Regions from separate parts of the Homo sapiens genome. Here region 2 is linked to region 1. Evidence: promoter capture Hi-C in human tissues and cell types (Jung and others, 2019). All regions are on one chromosome and are shown on one strand. The core of a region is centred on a gene start or on the middle of the fragment in contact, and the rest is flanking DNA. Distances in the headings are between cores, read along the strand shown.

Region 1 (4,727 bases), core at 678-3,177:
TGCAGCACTGCTCTGGAGAGAGTAATAATAATACAGCAGAAGCTAGTTAGTCCCAGGAATAGTGTCCACTTGCCTGAATCTGAGTGCGCGCTCAAGGCCACACTGAGCGCTGCGCCATGTGAACTAAGCTTGTGCGCCTCCTTGGGAGAACAGTCTGGGTTGGACTTTGGCCGGGCGAGCAAGGCTGCTGCTGCCAGCTGATCTGCTCGGGATCCGCCGGTCGGATCTGGGTGCTTAAGGCCGACCCTGCCTTTCGCGCAACGCTAAGGAGCAGCTCCGGGGTGCACAGCCCTCCCTGATTGTTACTCTCTGGCTGAGGCCTGGTCAGGTCTCGAAGAAGGTCTCACCAAAGAGGCGTGGGTCAGCTAAGACCCCCGCAGAAGGTGGAAACTCTCAAACCCATCAGCATGCCCACCACAGCTGGGCTTGGCCTCACCATCCTCAGAGTCCGGGCTGCTCGGCCTGCCCGAGGCCTCACCATAATTGCCAGACTTGTCTGGGGAAACGCGACGGCCGCTGTGAGTGCCAGTGTTGACAAAGGCTGTGTCAGGACGTCTAAGCAGAGGCCTACCTGGACCAAAACCTGTCTGGCTTATTTTCACCAAATTTGCTAGCTTAGGGTGCCTGACGCAAATGCGATTTTGTGCCCAGGGCACCGAACGCATTTCCCCCAAGCGCCGCGGGCTCCTAGGAAGCCAAGAGTCGTGCCAAAAGTCACACAGAAGGGCTTTCAACCTAGCAGTGCTGTCCTGCCTGCCCTACCATCCCCTCTGGTGGAAATGGAGGCCTTGGACCTGTCCGCGCCCAGGACGCCGCGCCGCGAGTGCCCGCAGCTCCGCGCGCTCACCACTCACTCCCAGAGCGCTTTTCGGAGTAACTCCACAGCAACTCTTTAAAATTAAAAGTAATTTCTGTAAAAATATGCAGACATTCCTCTTCTTCATAAACCCCTATTTGTAACAATCCTCACTTTGGCATTAGAGTAAAAGCCTTTCAAAGGCACTGATCCTAACGGGTTTTCTTAAAATAATTTGGGTCTAATGATAAAATCGTGGACCAAAGGGAAGGGTGGCGAAGAGGGTGTAGGGAATTGGTTGGCATTAGTATAATGGCTTCATTGCCTCTTGCTCGGCTTCTCTCTCCCACCCATCGCCACCGCGTCCACACTCCGCCGCATTCCAGAGAAAAAGAAAAGGCCACGGCCTCGTAAAGCTCCCAGCTGGCCCGGACCCCGAGCTCCTCCCGGTTAGAAGCCGAAGCGGCCCCTCTACTACGGCGGCTGCGATTAACAGTTGCCAATGCATCTGGTTCCTTGGGCTTCGGATTAATGTGAATCTTCCACGTAAACGATTTACGGATGAAATAAAAGCCTTTTAGAGCAATATTTCCTTTCAAGTTCTTAAGACGCCTCTAAATCTTTCTGGTAGTGAGTGGCCGGCATGGGGGCGGGGTGGGGACGGGTGGCTCAGGAAGGCGCAGGCAGTAGGGAGTGGAGGTTTAACTGCTTTGCGATCTCACCAAGATCTTCCGAAATGCCAGTCCACTGTCACGGCGGCAATGAATCTGGGTGTCAGGGGCTCGTCTCTCCTGGCATTTGTCTGAAATGGAGCTGTCTGTCTGTCTATCCTAGGCCTGGACGCCCTCTGCCCGGGTAAGTGGGGAAAATGGGGGTGGGGTAGGGGCGGAGGGGGACCTGGGGTGGAGTTAGTCGCCCGCCTATTTTCATATTCATTAGAACTGGGAGGCTGCCCGAGGAGGCCAGCTGAGTTTCAAGATATAAAAGCAACTTCGGGTGCTCCTTTTCCAGCCGGGACGTATTAAAGGGACCGGAGCGGGGCAGTTCCCGACGCCGCAGCGCTCGCTTTCCCTTCCCTCCTCTCTGGCCCTCCCTCCTCCCACCCACTGGCTCCCTCCCCCAGCGCTCTCCAGTTTCTGTGCCCCAGGAGCTACGCGACAGTCTTCCAGGATTATGGAGTTTCTGAGCGAGAAGTTTGCCCTCAAGAGCCCTCCGAGTAAAAACAGTGACTTTTACATGGGCGCAGGAGGTCCTCTGGAGCACGTTATGGAGACGCTGGACAATGAGTCCTTTTACAGCAAAGCGTCTGCAGGCAAATGCGTGCAGGCCTTCGGACCCCTGCCCCGCGCCGAGCATCACGTGCGCTTGGAGAGGACCTCGCCCTGTCAGGACAGCAGCGGTGAGTCGCTAGCGCCCCAGCCGGAGCCGCCGCAGCCCTTCCGCAATCGAAAATGCAGGATCGGTCTGATCAGGCAGGGAGGGAGAAAGGAGAAAAGTGGGAGCGAGGGACCTGGAAGGTGGAGGAAGGTAGTGGAAGGTGCTCGCTTTATGAAGCGGTGTTACTGCTGCTGCAGCCTTTGGGGGCGGAGGGCGGAGGGAGGGAGAGATCCAGCACCGGGTTGCCTCTGAGCGATTCTCCTTTCGCTGTAGGGTCTGGTCGCCTACGGATCCCTGAGTCCTTCTGTAATATTGGTTCCTGGAGTAAACTGATAGGGCGCTAAATAGAGCGTAATTGAGTCAAGACAGAACGCTTCCTCTGCGAGCCCGCCTTGCAGTCCGGGCGGTAGGAACTGAAATCGATCACAGCTCGTTAGAGTACGTCACTGTCGTCACGAGTAGGGAAAAAAAAACCGGAAAACAAAAACAAAAAACAAAAAACCCTTTGAGCTCCTTTAGGTAAAGATAAATCTTTTTAATTTTCCAAGACGTGGCGATATATTTTCAAAGTTTGAGGATCCCTAGATTTCTAGCGTGTGTGAATTTGTAATTTCTGCTTTTTTTTGCGTTTGCAATACAACACGCGTTGAATGTTTGTTAAACACTAAAGCACACTAAATAGCTTCGGGCAAACCATCCCCGGCCTAATCACTCATTCCCAGATTCTACGTTTTGTATTTTTATGACTTCACATTAAAAGTCACCTAAGGAGTCTTTGGAATGCTTCTGGGTGAAATCTTCAACTTTGAATGCCCAAGTATCTCCAAGTCAAAATGTTATCAAAACAAACCATCTATCTTTTCTATCTTGTAACCTAATACTAACCTATTATTTCAGATCGCGACAGCTAAAGCACGTTTACAATTCCAAGAGAACTTCTCCTTATCATTGTATATATTCCACAGTTAAGCTATAAGGGGCGGGTTGCTTTAAAATAACAAACGAATTAAGTGTGAAATATTTACAACAAGCCCCCTGCCCCCTATTTTATAGAAATTCAAAATCTGACAAAACACTGGCCTGTAGAAGCTCATTTTCTAAATATTTTGAACACAAGTTTTTTTCTTTTATTAATCTCATATTTAACTAATTTTATTTAACGTTGCAAGTAACTTTTGACTAAGGGTAAATCAAAAATAAAGGTGCAAATGATAGAGAAAATAATCAGCTAAGTCGTTTCAGTCATTTATTTAGAAAGATTCGAGCGTATACTTTTTGTTATTCTTACACTGAGTTGTTGGTTTTCTGGCTGCGTTTCAGACCTGGTATCTGTATTTGTGGAATTCTTAGGTGCATGCCTAACGTTATTTGAATTGACAGGTCTTTCTTTAATGATTCTGCAATGTCTTGTATTGACTCTGGATGGACTTGATCATAATATTTTATTTTGAATAGTCGAGAATCCAAAATAAGAGACATAATTGATGCGTTATCAACTTTTAAACAAATATCACACTATTAAGATGAATTATAACAAAGAAGTGTTAAGGAAGATGAACATAGGCAGTCATCCGCTTAATTTAGGAGAGATCCTGTCTTTCTCTTGAGATGCCCTTAGCCTCTCTGATGCTTCCCCTCCCCCATCCCTAATTGCTGCAGTTCCCCCTTTAATTTTGCCCAAGGAGATAGAACCGTTTGTTAATCAGTCATGGCTCTTCTTTATATTTGGTTTAACATCACATCTTCGTTTGCATGAAAACCGTTAATTTAAAAAATTTGTTATATATATATATAGACAAATTATAGTTGTATATATTTATGGGGTACAAAGTAATGTTAAGTTTTTTTAATGCAATGTGGAATGATTAAATTACGTTAATTGGCCATCACCTCAAATATTTGACATTTTTTATTATGAGAACATTTTTGAGAGTTACTCCGTTAGTGACATTGAAATGCACAGTACTCAATTATTAGCTATTGAAGTTATATGCGCATTAAACTTGAATATATTTGTATAATGATGAAAAGAGTTGTAAAAATACATTATGGGGGTAATTTTAAAAAAAGAAACAAATGAAAAAAGTATGATCATCTATTGGAAATTATTATTCTGGCTGGTTTGACTTTACTTTTTAAAAAGTGCTTCCCATTTCACTATGTGCATCCATTGCATTTGTGGGTGTTTGGCATTATATGATATATCTTTGTTTTATATCACACTGCAAGCATGCAATCAAATCTGAAGAAAATTACTGAAATTAAACATCCCTTAACAGAATGCCAGATGTCATGCTCTGTAATGTTTTAATAGCTGTTTTAATTTCTGTGTTTCAGCAGAGAAAATAGAAAAGTTTTCAATCCCAAAACTTATCTAACTAGCTAAGCAGAAATATGAAATGTTTTAAAAAGAACTGCGTAAGTTTTTAGGTAAAAAAAAAAAATGCTGCTTAAATCTAATTTCCGATAGAAAGCGTATTCAAAATTTGGCATGAAATTTATTTTGTCAATTTAGTAGATTATTTTTGAAGAAAAAGTGTAAATGCAGACATGG
Region 2 (4,455 bases), core at 574-3,073, 590 kb after region 1:
TTGTAACCCATCTAGAATATCTGGACTTCTGTCTCTTTCTCTGAAAAATGAAAGTATGAGACTAGCTCCATACAGCCATTTTCAGTTTTACGTTTTCTGGGTCAATGAATTATGATGACATTAAAATATGGTCTAGTACTGTGAGTTCTTGCTTGATATTTCCATTCTGTACATACTAGTGCCGCCACCTAGAGTACAAAGTGGGAAATATTCTCCTTCCCAGGCACCAAGCTTTGACTCCCCTCAGGCTAAAACCCCACTTTTTCTCTGATTCTTCTATGCATACTTTCTGTCTTCTACCCAGTCACGACAACTCATTGCATTCAGAGCCCATTTAGGTTCTTCATGATCTCTGTGTTTAGAAGAAGGATTCTGAGATCAAGGGTCTGTGTTTTTGTTTAATATGTGTAATACAGCTAAGTCTGAAAAGGTGGAAAAACATGGTTAAACTGATGAATTGGAATTAAAATCACACCTAATTTTTTCACTAAATGTACATTCAAGTTAAAAGTATTAGCCTATACTTTGTTTGGCATAATATTTTATACAGCATGTTAATACAAGATTTTCTTTGACTTATTACTTGGGTCTGGTATTAATGTTACAAAGATTAGCTGTTGCTTTGGAATGAAAACATTGCAGTCCTACCCATACTCTACTTAGTAAGTCCCATTGTCCTTAGTTAAACTCTTTGTATCTCTTATTTTTTTTAACCTGCACAATAGGAATAATATCCTGTGAACTCTGCTTCACGGTATGCTATGTTACATGAAATAAAATTAACCTGGCATATAGTAGGTTTTCAATAATGAATTTGAAAAGTATTCTTTAGATTACTCCTAGATCTGTAGTAGTGGTTACAGTGGCTGTTTCTTCTAGACTCAGAATGCTCTAATGTTGACTATAGTCTTCTCTGTCTGACAGCTTGCCGGTACTTATCCTTTCTGCACAAATTGGCTCACCAAATTTGGGGCCTTCTGTAACACCGTACACCCAGTTTTCCTCAAGGACAACTTAGAAAATTCCAACTGAAATTAAATCAATATTCAAGAATCTTTGAAAGGAAGCATTTTTTCATACTATTTCATTTTGCTAGGAATTTCTCCGAAAGAGGTTTCCTGGATTTTATTATTCACAGATTGGAGAATAAAAATGTCCTTGTGAGAGGTGAGGGAGTGGTAGCTTATTCTAAAACCATCAGGGAGGGATTCTTGGAATTCGATTAATTCATTAACGCATATTGTCAATATTTACCGAATGATTACTATGAGGAGAATTATTTATGTTCTGATAATTTAGGGAAACAAGACAAGAATATCCATGCTTTTATTAACAAAAGACAAAAATAAATGAACAAATAAAGACTTGTAGAGATTGAATGGGGATAGTGGTGAAATAGGTTTTAAAATAAATGGTTGTATCAGTCAGCTATTGCCACAAAAATGGTGTATAACAAGTGACTCCAAAAGTCAATTACTTTAAAGCAAATTATTTAACTCTGTTCACATGTCTCTGAATCAGCTAGGGTAACCCTGCTTTAAGCTCGGGAATCTCTCCCTTACATTGCAGGTGTGCAAGTCAGCTGGGGCAGCTTTGCTCCATATGTCCCTCCTCATTTTGGGATCATCTGAGAAAAGAAAAGAGTTTCTCATGGCAATGGCAGAAGAGAGAAAGGGAAAGCCCTATGTGTCAAGCACAAATCAAGTCTGTCTTTTTCTTATGTCTACTAACATCCCACTGGCCAAAGCAAGTCTCATTTCCTAAGTTAAAGTCAAAGAGTGAGGAAGTATATTTCATCCACTCTGGGAGGAGTAAGGGAATGAATATTTGATGAACAGTAATCACAGTTTTCATTGCAGATCTTTAACAAAAAAGCTTAGCATGTTGCACAAAAGCCAGAAGACCAATGTGCTTGAAACATAGGAACAGAAGGGGAGAATGGTGGAATATGATGATAGAGAGGAAGACAAAACCCACTCAGGTAGCATAGGCCATCATCAGGCATGACAAGAGGAAACCTTTAGAATGTTTTAAGCAGAGAATGACAGGAATAGATTTACATTTTTAAAAACTTTTCTGGAGTTTTTGAAAGCTGAAAGGGATCAAGGTTGTAGGGAGACTACTCAAATGGTTATTATGGCAGCGCAGGAGAAAGATGGTGGTGGCTTGGACTTAGGTGGCAAAAATGACATAAGGAAAAGTAGTTAGATTTGAAATATATTTTGGAACAGACCTGCACCCCAGGGGGTTTTGCTAGCTTGGAAGTGGAGGGGAGAGAGAAACAATGTAAATGGATTCTAGTTTTTAGATCTGTGCAACTCAGTAAATCATGGTTCTAATAATTGAAATGAAAAACTCTAGAGGGGCAGAAGATTATTAGAAAGATGTTTGGAGGAATCAAAAGTTTTACTTTAGACAATAAGTCTGCCTAATGAAACTCCAAGTAGGGCTGCTAATGAGGTGATTGCATATACAATTTGAGTAGTCAGAGATACAAACTTGGAGGTTATTAGGAAATAGATAGGATTCAAAACCATAAGACTTATCAGATTCACTGGGAAAGCACAGTAAATTTAAAAAGAATCATAAACCCAAGGAGTATGAATAATATAAAACCATTACATTCCAAATTTAACATGTAATATCTTCTTGAGAAAAAGAAAAAAAGTGTTTCACTGAATTTGCTCCTGATAGACGGTAGCTCAAGTACATCTGCTCTGTTTCAGGTATTGCAGGTGCTATGGAAATTTTCTTAGACTTTGTAATATTAAAAAAGAAAAGAGAAAGTTTTCTTATAATAAGAATTTGTCTCATTTATTACATTAGATAATTACACTAATTTATAAAACTAAGAAACATGAAAGAAGAAATTTGTCAGGAACATTTTTTTCTGTAATACTTTTATTTTGGTCTTATTCAAAAGGGAGACCTATAAGGAAAACTACCTGAGCATTACACATAATGGGTGGTGATTTTGTGAGTATTTACATTTTTTCCTAGACACGAGAAGCAAGATTATAGGTGAAGTCAGCAATGGCTGCAATGTGGAGCATGGTTAGTTAAATACAGTAACTCATTAACATGTAAGTCCCAAGCAAACCGTATTTTGTAATTACGGTTTAAGTTGCAAAATATGCTTTGACTACAGAAGTCAGTCATCAATTTTTCCAGGTTAATTACCTATATGGATGCAATAACAGAGATAGGAAGAGCTGAAAGGAAATGAGCTAGGAATTTGTAAGGATTATGGGCAAAGCAAGGTTACATGCAGATTGGGAAACTGAACGTTTGTTTACATTTACCTAAATCTCCAAGGTTGGGTTATACACATCCTATGTGGGTGTATGCATGCACACATCCATCTGTATTTCTAGAAAATATACTTTAATTGAACAGAAAAATCAATTGGGTTCACAGACTTTGACATCATTATTTGTTCAGATGAATCAGAGTTACAGCTTCAAATGATAGACTCATTTATAGAAATGGAGCAAACTCACAATTTATCTAAACATTCAGCTGATGATTGTACATGATCCAAGGACAATCTTCTTGAATGATTTTTTTAAAGTTAACATTTCCAGTCAGAGAGGAAAAGGATGATGAGAGAAAAGGCTGAGAAAACTGACTATAAAAGCTCACATAAAATATGAAGATTAATGATAACAAAAGAGTGTTAAAAGGTGTGGCTGAAAGAAACATTTAAAATTAAAACATGGAAAGGGCATGTAAGAAATTAAACGTAATCAGTATTTTCATTTAATTTAGTAAGTATGTATTGATCACTTATGGATTATAAACCTTAGAAGTCAGAATGTTCTCCTTCTAGCAGTTTACAGTTTACCATAAACTGTATAAACAAACTACGGAGCATTTAACAGAAAACTAGGAAAAATAGAAGTAGACGAGACTACTTTCAGGACTCAAACTTGGAAATGTTTTTGTTGATTAAGCCATAAAATACAGGATGATCATAGGAAGGTGAAGGGGAGATTCCAGGTTGTAAAAACACAACAGGCCAAGTTTCAGGTATTTAGGTTACCAAAAGATTGGAAAATCCTGGAAGCTGTTAATGAGGTATTAAAGTCACCAGAGCTATAGGAAAAAACCATAAGGAACTGAAAAACCAACCCTTGATCAGTTGGTTCCAGAGCTTGCCCTTCTCCAAACAAAATAAGCTTACAGACCACTCTTTCTAACTGCCAATTCTTCAGGTGTCTCTGTTGATTATTTTCAGCAATTACCTAATAAAGGTCTGACATAAGTAACAGTACAAGCTTAGAAATCTACCTACTTTAGAGATGTTGTAATCAACAGGTACCTAACAGGTAACATCCACTTAAGAAGGCCAACACAGGAATATTATTAAAGGACAATGCTTAAAATCTTTATCAGATATTTTAAGAACTAGGTAACCCTTAGAAGGATCTAAGGTATGCCGGGCATGGTGGCTCA

What was found. Contacts are between HindIII fragments. The study calls those that stand out against the background at their distance.
Region 2: a contact is called between a fragment that was not itself captured here and the fragment with the promoter of ALX1 in region 1, in 2 of the 25 tissues and cell types used here (mesendoderm cells and thymus).

Annotation. Positions count from the first base shown.
Region 1 is chr12:85,278,293-85,283,019 of GRCh38, forward strand. ALX1 (ALX homeobox 1) reads left to right here and starts at 1,928. Exons shown (of 4, transcript NM_006982.3): 1 at 1,928-2,195. The coding sequence starts at 1,970. RefSeq lists a silencer at 2,019-2,313. The HindIII fragment of the contact is 12,363 bases long and covers 1-4,727 here.
Region 2 is chr12:85,867,179-85,871,633 of GRCh38, forward strand. No RefSeq gene overlaps it. Among named protein-coding and RNA genes, the nearest start is that of NTS, 4.9 kb to the right of the region's middle. RefSeq lists a silencer at 111-210. The HindIII fragment of the contact is 6,135 bases long and covers 1-4,455 here.